Linked DNA regions of Homo sapiens: region 2 is linked to region 1. The links are contacts of gene promoters, found by promoter capture Hi-C in blood cells and fetal thymus (Javierre and others, 2016). All regions are on one chromosome and are shown on one strand. The core of a region is centred on a gene start or on the middle of the fragment in contact, and the rest is flanking DNA. Distances in the headings are between cores, read along the strand shown. Region 1 holds the start of ADCY4 (adenylate cyclase 4). Region 2 overlaps DHRS1 (dehydrogenase/reductase 1).

Region 1 (2,700 bases), core at 138-2,637:
ACTTCGGAATGAATGTCTCCAAATCTGGCCAATTTGCTCGGGAGATTCCCGGAGCCGGGGACCGCGGCCGGCAGCTTGAAGGGCGGCGCGAGGCAGCGCTCGAGCAGCAGGGGGCGCCAGGACCCGCGGCGTCCCGCACCTCCCTGGCCACCAGGGCTGCGATCTCGCCACCTGCCTCAACTCCAAGCAGAAGCTGCACAGCCGTCCCAGCATTTTGTCCCCACCTCTTCCCGGATTTAGGCGTGGACCAGCAAGGATTGGCCGCGCCCGGTGATTTTCCCACCTTGCCTCCAAGCAGTGAAAAGAAAACCAGGGGCAGGCCATTTCTAGAATTGGATTGAAGACCTTCTTCCTCCCCAAACAGAAACTGGACATGGGTTTACTTTGGGACTCAGTGAGAGCCCGGTGGAGGGTGCCTTCTGGGAGTCTGTGGGTACAACTGCTCTACATCCCCTAAGAGGGAGAGAAAGGCAGGAAATGAATTCCCCAGGGGCCTCCTAGAATTTCCCCTTTGGAAAACTGGAAAATCCGGTGATGGATTTATTGTAGAACCCGTAGACCACGGATGTTCATAAAGTCTGTCAGAACCCGGACAGAAACGAGAAGCATCCAGGACTCAGCTTTCTCCCTGAGCAGACCCAGAAGGGTAGAGTGACTTGCCCAGGGTCACTGCAGTTCCTAGCCAGGCTCAATGGTCCTTTCTTTCTCTGCTCCCAGCAACGAAAACACATCGAAAAGAAGACCCCACAAACCCCAACCCCGAAAATGCTCCCCAGGTAGAGACCCTCCCGCAGCAGAGGCTCGGCTCACCCTGCCGCTGGCCCAGGCCACTGCGAGCAGCGCCGCGAGCGCACAGAGCACGATCCCCAGCAGCAGCAGCAGCAGCGGGTACTGCTGGCTCAGGCTGTAGTAGGTCTCGTAGAAGAGGTCTTCGCTGGGGGGCGGCCGGGGGCTGAAGAGGCGGGCCATGATCTCCCCAGCCCCGAGCCCCGGGGCTGGCTAGGGCCGGGCGCCGGGTTACCTCCTTCGGCCCGGCGGGCCCCACCTGAGCTTTTCTCACCCGCTCAAAGCCGCTACCACCCCGCGCCCCCAACCTCGTGGCAATCCCGTCTCCTTTTTCAGGCCCTCCCTGCGGCCTCCCAGCCCGCTCCCAGCTGGCGATGAGGGGATCCCTCAGTCCTTTCCTCCTCCTCCCTCAAACCCGGATTGTAGAGGTGCCCTAGAAAAGCCTCATCGCCAGGAGGGCAGGATTTGGGGTTGGTGCGAGGGAGCCCCGGGTTCCCCTGATCCCCGAACTCACTGCCCGCGGCGCTGGCGCAGCGGAGTGGGCTAGGTCCGGGGAGGGAGCCGGGGACCTGATGGCGGAGTCACGCTCGCCGCTGCGCTCTGGCTCAGAGTCCCGGGCGACAGGCGCTTCCCTCCCGGCGCCGCGGCCCCCTCCCACTTCCCCGACGGGACAGCCCGGCCCCTTCCTGTGCCAAAGCCGGACTCCCCTGGTCTCCTCCCGCACTTGGTTTTGTCTCTCCTAACACCATCGCCTCCCCGCTTCAGCCCCTTCAGGGAAGGGCAATGTGGACCCTGGGAGAGATGCGAAGGGGTGGGCTGGGGTGGACCCAATGGGATGTGTCCAAATGGAGGTGAACGTTTGGTAGTGGGGAGACCGAGGGCGGGGGGCTGAAGCCTGGCGAGAATGTAGGGAAGAATGTGGGTCCTGGTGGGGATCTAGGTCAGAGTTGGGGGCGCTCATTCTCTTGACCTCTCCGCTTGGCTGGCAACCACTACCACCGGGTTTGAACTGTTCATGCTCCGTGGGAGGGGTTGCGCCTGTGTATAGCTTTAGGAGCCATAGCTTTCCACTCCCGAACAGCAACTGGGAATCAAAAGGGAAGCAATGTCCAGGAAGCAACCTGAGTGTGTGGTGGAGGCAGGTATGTGGCGTCATGATCTCTAAGAGCCTGGGGGCACCGTGCGGGGCCAGGTCTGTGATCTTTCACATCAACTCATCCCTCGCCAGAGCCCTGCAAGTGAGTCTTGAGAGCCCGGAAGAAAAGGGACCACAGCCTCTATCCCCAGAGTTTAGGGTTAGGGTGGGGTCGCCATCCTAGGCTTTAGAGGAAGCACTGCCCTGAGATTAGAGAGTGGTCTGGGGAACCAGGCCTCTAGGATTCCTTCCTGTTGTAGCCGGCTGTGCCCTGACCTTGTGTGCCAGGCCATTGCCCACTCCCAGCCCCCAGCATCCCCACTTCCTGCCATAGCAGAGCTGTGGTGCCTCCCTATCCCTCACTGGCAGCTCCCACCCCCATCCCAGTCCCTCCCTGCCCCTGGCTGAGCTCAGACTGACTAGCATTCCATCATGTTTATTGACTCCTGGGGGACAGGTCACAAAGTCAGTTTGTGGGCAGGCCAGACTGCCCTAGAAGGAAGTCAGGGGCCTCAAGGGGTGGCACTCTTCCTTAACTCGTAACTCTTGGAGGCAAGCTTGGAAGGTGCTTTATTTCCCGCTATGATTATACCAACCCTGTGGCCTGCTCCAGGCTTCAGGATCTTTAGGGCCTTCTTGCGAACCTACTGGTGGGGGGTGCTGCAAGCCCCTCCCCTTGCCCGAAGGTGCCAAGCCCCATGTGGGCAAGGCAGTTGTCTGTTGCATAGTCAAGTAGTTGTTGTCTCCAACTTGCACCCCAGAGCAGTTGTATATGTTAA
Region 2 (2,700 bases), core at 194-2,693, 42 kb before region 1:
AGGCAGGGGAGTATGCAGAGTGACAAGGTTTGGGCCCAGTTGGACAGGGCACTGCTGAGAGCCCTGGAGCTCAGGATCCCTGGAGAGCTCTTTCTCTTGGGCCTTGGACTTTTTCCACACTTCCCAGGAGCCTGCTCCTAAGGCTCTCAGACCTCAAACTGGGAATGCTGACCCCTTGGGCCTCAAAAAGCAGAGAAAAGAATGACATGTTCCTCAACCAACTCCCGAGCCAGATCTGGGCACTGGATGCTACCGCACTACACATCCTCCATGCCCTTTCTTATTACCAGCTGCCCCCAAACTTCACCTGTTGCCAAAGCCACCACACATTTGCCACTCAATTCTGTGGTTTCCGCAGATGAGAAGGCTGATTTGAACTGAAACACAGGGGCAGAGAAGTGAAGGGTTAATTTCCAAGAGCACTGCCCAGGTCTCCTCCCCATTTCAACTTCTGTTCCAGGAGAAAAAGACCAAAGACCAAAGAGGCCAAAGACCTCAAGCAGGGCCTGTAGGACCCAAAGTATTGGCAGGTGCCAGAGCCACTCCTCCCCACATCCAGGTGAGCCCTGTGCCCTGGCACCAGGATCTGCTGTCTTTGCTAAGTGGAAGGATCTGGTAGTGCCAAATAGTGTTTGGACCTTCTAAGCTAGCTGGTGTGGGGGTCAAGTGCATGGTCTTTGGAGCTAGACAGCCTTTCCACTTAGGACATATGTGACCTTCAACAAGTTTCTAAACCTCTCTGGGTTTCAGTTTTGCCATCTGTAGAATGGAGCTGGTATCTCCCTTACAGGATTAAAGGAAATAATGTGTGTCCCATGCTCAGCCCTGCACCTGCCACAGTAAGCACCTGGTGAGTGGGAGTATCTGATCTTGTTATTGAGGATGCAGAGGCCGACTCCCCTGTTCTCTGCTTCCTTCGCCCTCCCCTTGCCAACCTGCTTCAACACAGGATCCTGCAGGACCTCCTCCTTTGCCATATGCTCCTTCAGCAGTTCTGTCTGCACAATCCCCGGCCACAGAGACACACAGCTGACCCCATGGCGCCGCAGCTCGTGGGCACAGTCAGCAGCCAGCTTGTCACACTGTGGAGAGGCGGAAGGCAGGGTAAGAGCCACCTAGCCATGTCACTTTCCTGCCCTGCCCTCTCTGCTTCTACTGTGAATGCTCCACCCACCCTGTCCTTCCCAGGAGCCCCAAGGTCTCAGCTGCCCACGCTCCCCAGTGTGATGCCTACTCTAGCCAACCAAGAGGAGCACAAGCAAAGGAACTGTCCATGGATGAGGCAGAGGAGGAGCTGAGAGGAGCCAGCCTTACCATTCTGACCACTGGGGATTGTACCTCCTGAGCTATAGGTAACATCACTGTCTTTTACCTCCTCAGCTCCTATGCCACTGGGTCCTCACCGCAGCTTTGCCCACACCATAGGGGACATTGAACATATACTGCAGGCTTCCTGGGGAGGAGATGACCACGATGAGCCCCTGGCCAGCTGGTACCATCAGCCGTGCCCCATACACTGAGCAAAAGTAGTGGCCTCTAGAAGGTGGGGCAAGGGAAGAAGGAATGAACCGTGTTAGTGCTGGCCTGGGTGCCACAGCCTCTGGCGGCTTCCCCTGCCTTCTGGTGGTTGTTGTCCACTAGGAAGGCTACACAGGGTGGGTTAGCGACCTGAGGAATTAGGGGCTTGAGGCCATATTCTGAGAGGAAAACTGGTCAAAATAACCACTGACAGATGAGAAACAGCAATCTTTGGAAGAAGAAATGGAACGCAAGAGCCCTGTCACAATAACAATTACAAACAAAATTGTTCAGGGGGAGAAAACTTAAGAAATGTATAGTGTCTACATAGAAAAACTATAAAACCATGACAATAAGTACAGACAAAATCTTTCAAAGCTAAGAACTGACATGTAAATCATCATTTCTATGTAAATCAATCCATAGATTCAGTCAAATTGGATTATAGCTCAATAAGACCTTTTGGAGGAATTGATAAAATAATCTAAAGCTCAATGAGAAGAATAAACGTGAGAACAGCCAGAAAAGCTGGGCACGGTGGCTCACGCCTGCAATCCCAGCACTTTGGGAGGCGAGGGGGGCAGATCACTTGAGCTCAGGAGTTTGAGACCAGCCTGGCCAACGTGGTGAAAGCCCATCTGTACTAAAAATACAAAAATTAGCCAGGTGTGGTGGTACGTGCCTATAGTCCCAGCTACTCGGGAGCCTGAGGCAGGAGGATCTCTTGAGCCCAGGAGGCGGAGGTTGCAGTAAGCTGAGATTGTGCCACTGCACTCTAGCCTGGCTGACAGAGTGAGATTGTCTCAAAAATAAATAAATAAATAAAAAGAAAGAGAACAGCCAGGAAAATTCCGAAAAAAGGACTAAAAAGACTAATGTCTTGTGGGTGAGGGGGATTGCTTTCCCTACCCCTGCTGTCACCCATATTAAAATGCACAGGGGCCAGGCATGGTGGCTTATGCCTGTAATCCCAGCATTTTGGGAGGCTGAGATGGGAGAATTGCTTGAGGTCAGGAGTTTGAGACCAGCCTGGCCAACACAGCAAGACCCCGTCTCTAAAAAATAAAATAAAATAAATTAAAATGTACAAGACATAATAGTTAAAAGAATGCAATACAGGTGTTAACAGTAGACTGATAAGTCAATGAAACAAAACAGAGAATAATTAGATACAAGTGTATG

The links. Contacts are between HindIII fragments. The CHiCAGO score rates a contact against its expected background, and 5 or more counts as called.
Region 2: a contact is called between a fragment that was not itself captured here and the fragment with the promoter of ADCY4 in region 1, in 1 of 17 cell types (naive CD4 T cells). The highest score is 5.2, in naive CD4 T cells.

Annotation. Positions count from the first base shown.
Region 1 is chr14:24,333,684-24,336,383 of GRCh38, forward strand. ADCY4 (adenylate cyclase 4) reads right to left here and starts at 1,388. Exons shown (of 25, transcript NM_001198568.2): 1 at 811-1,388. The coding sequence starts at 969. RIPK3 (receptor interacting serine/threonine kinase 3) reads right to left here. Exons shown (of 10, transcript NM_006871.4): 10 at 2,342-2,700. The coding sequence ends at 2,492. RefSeq lists silencers at 25-124, 785-944, 1,015-1,094. The HindIII fragment of the contact is 4,552 bases long and covers 1-2,476 here.
Region 2 is chr14:24,291,249-24,293,948 of GRCh38, forward strand. It overlaps DHRS1 (dehydrogenase/reductase 1), which reads right to left. Exons shown (of 9, transcript NM_001136050.3): 5 at 1,404-1,536; 6 at 936-1,082; 7 at 308-377. It also overlaps a transcript of NOP9 not described here. Among named protein-coding and RNA genes, the nearest start is that of DHRS1, 7.2 kb to the right of the region's middle. The HindIII fragment of the contact is 4,352 bases long and covers 1-2,700 here.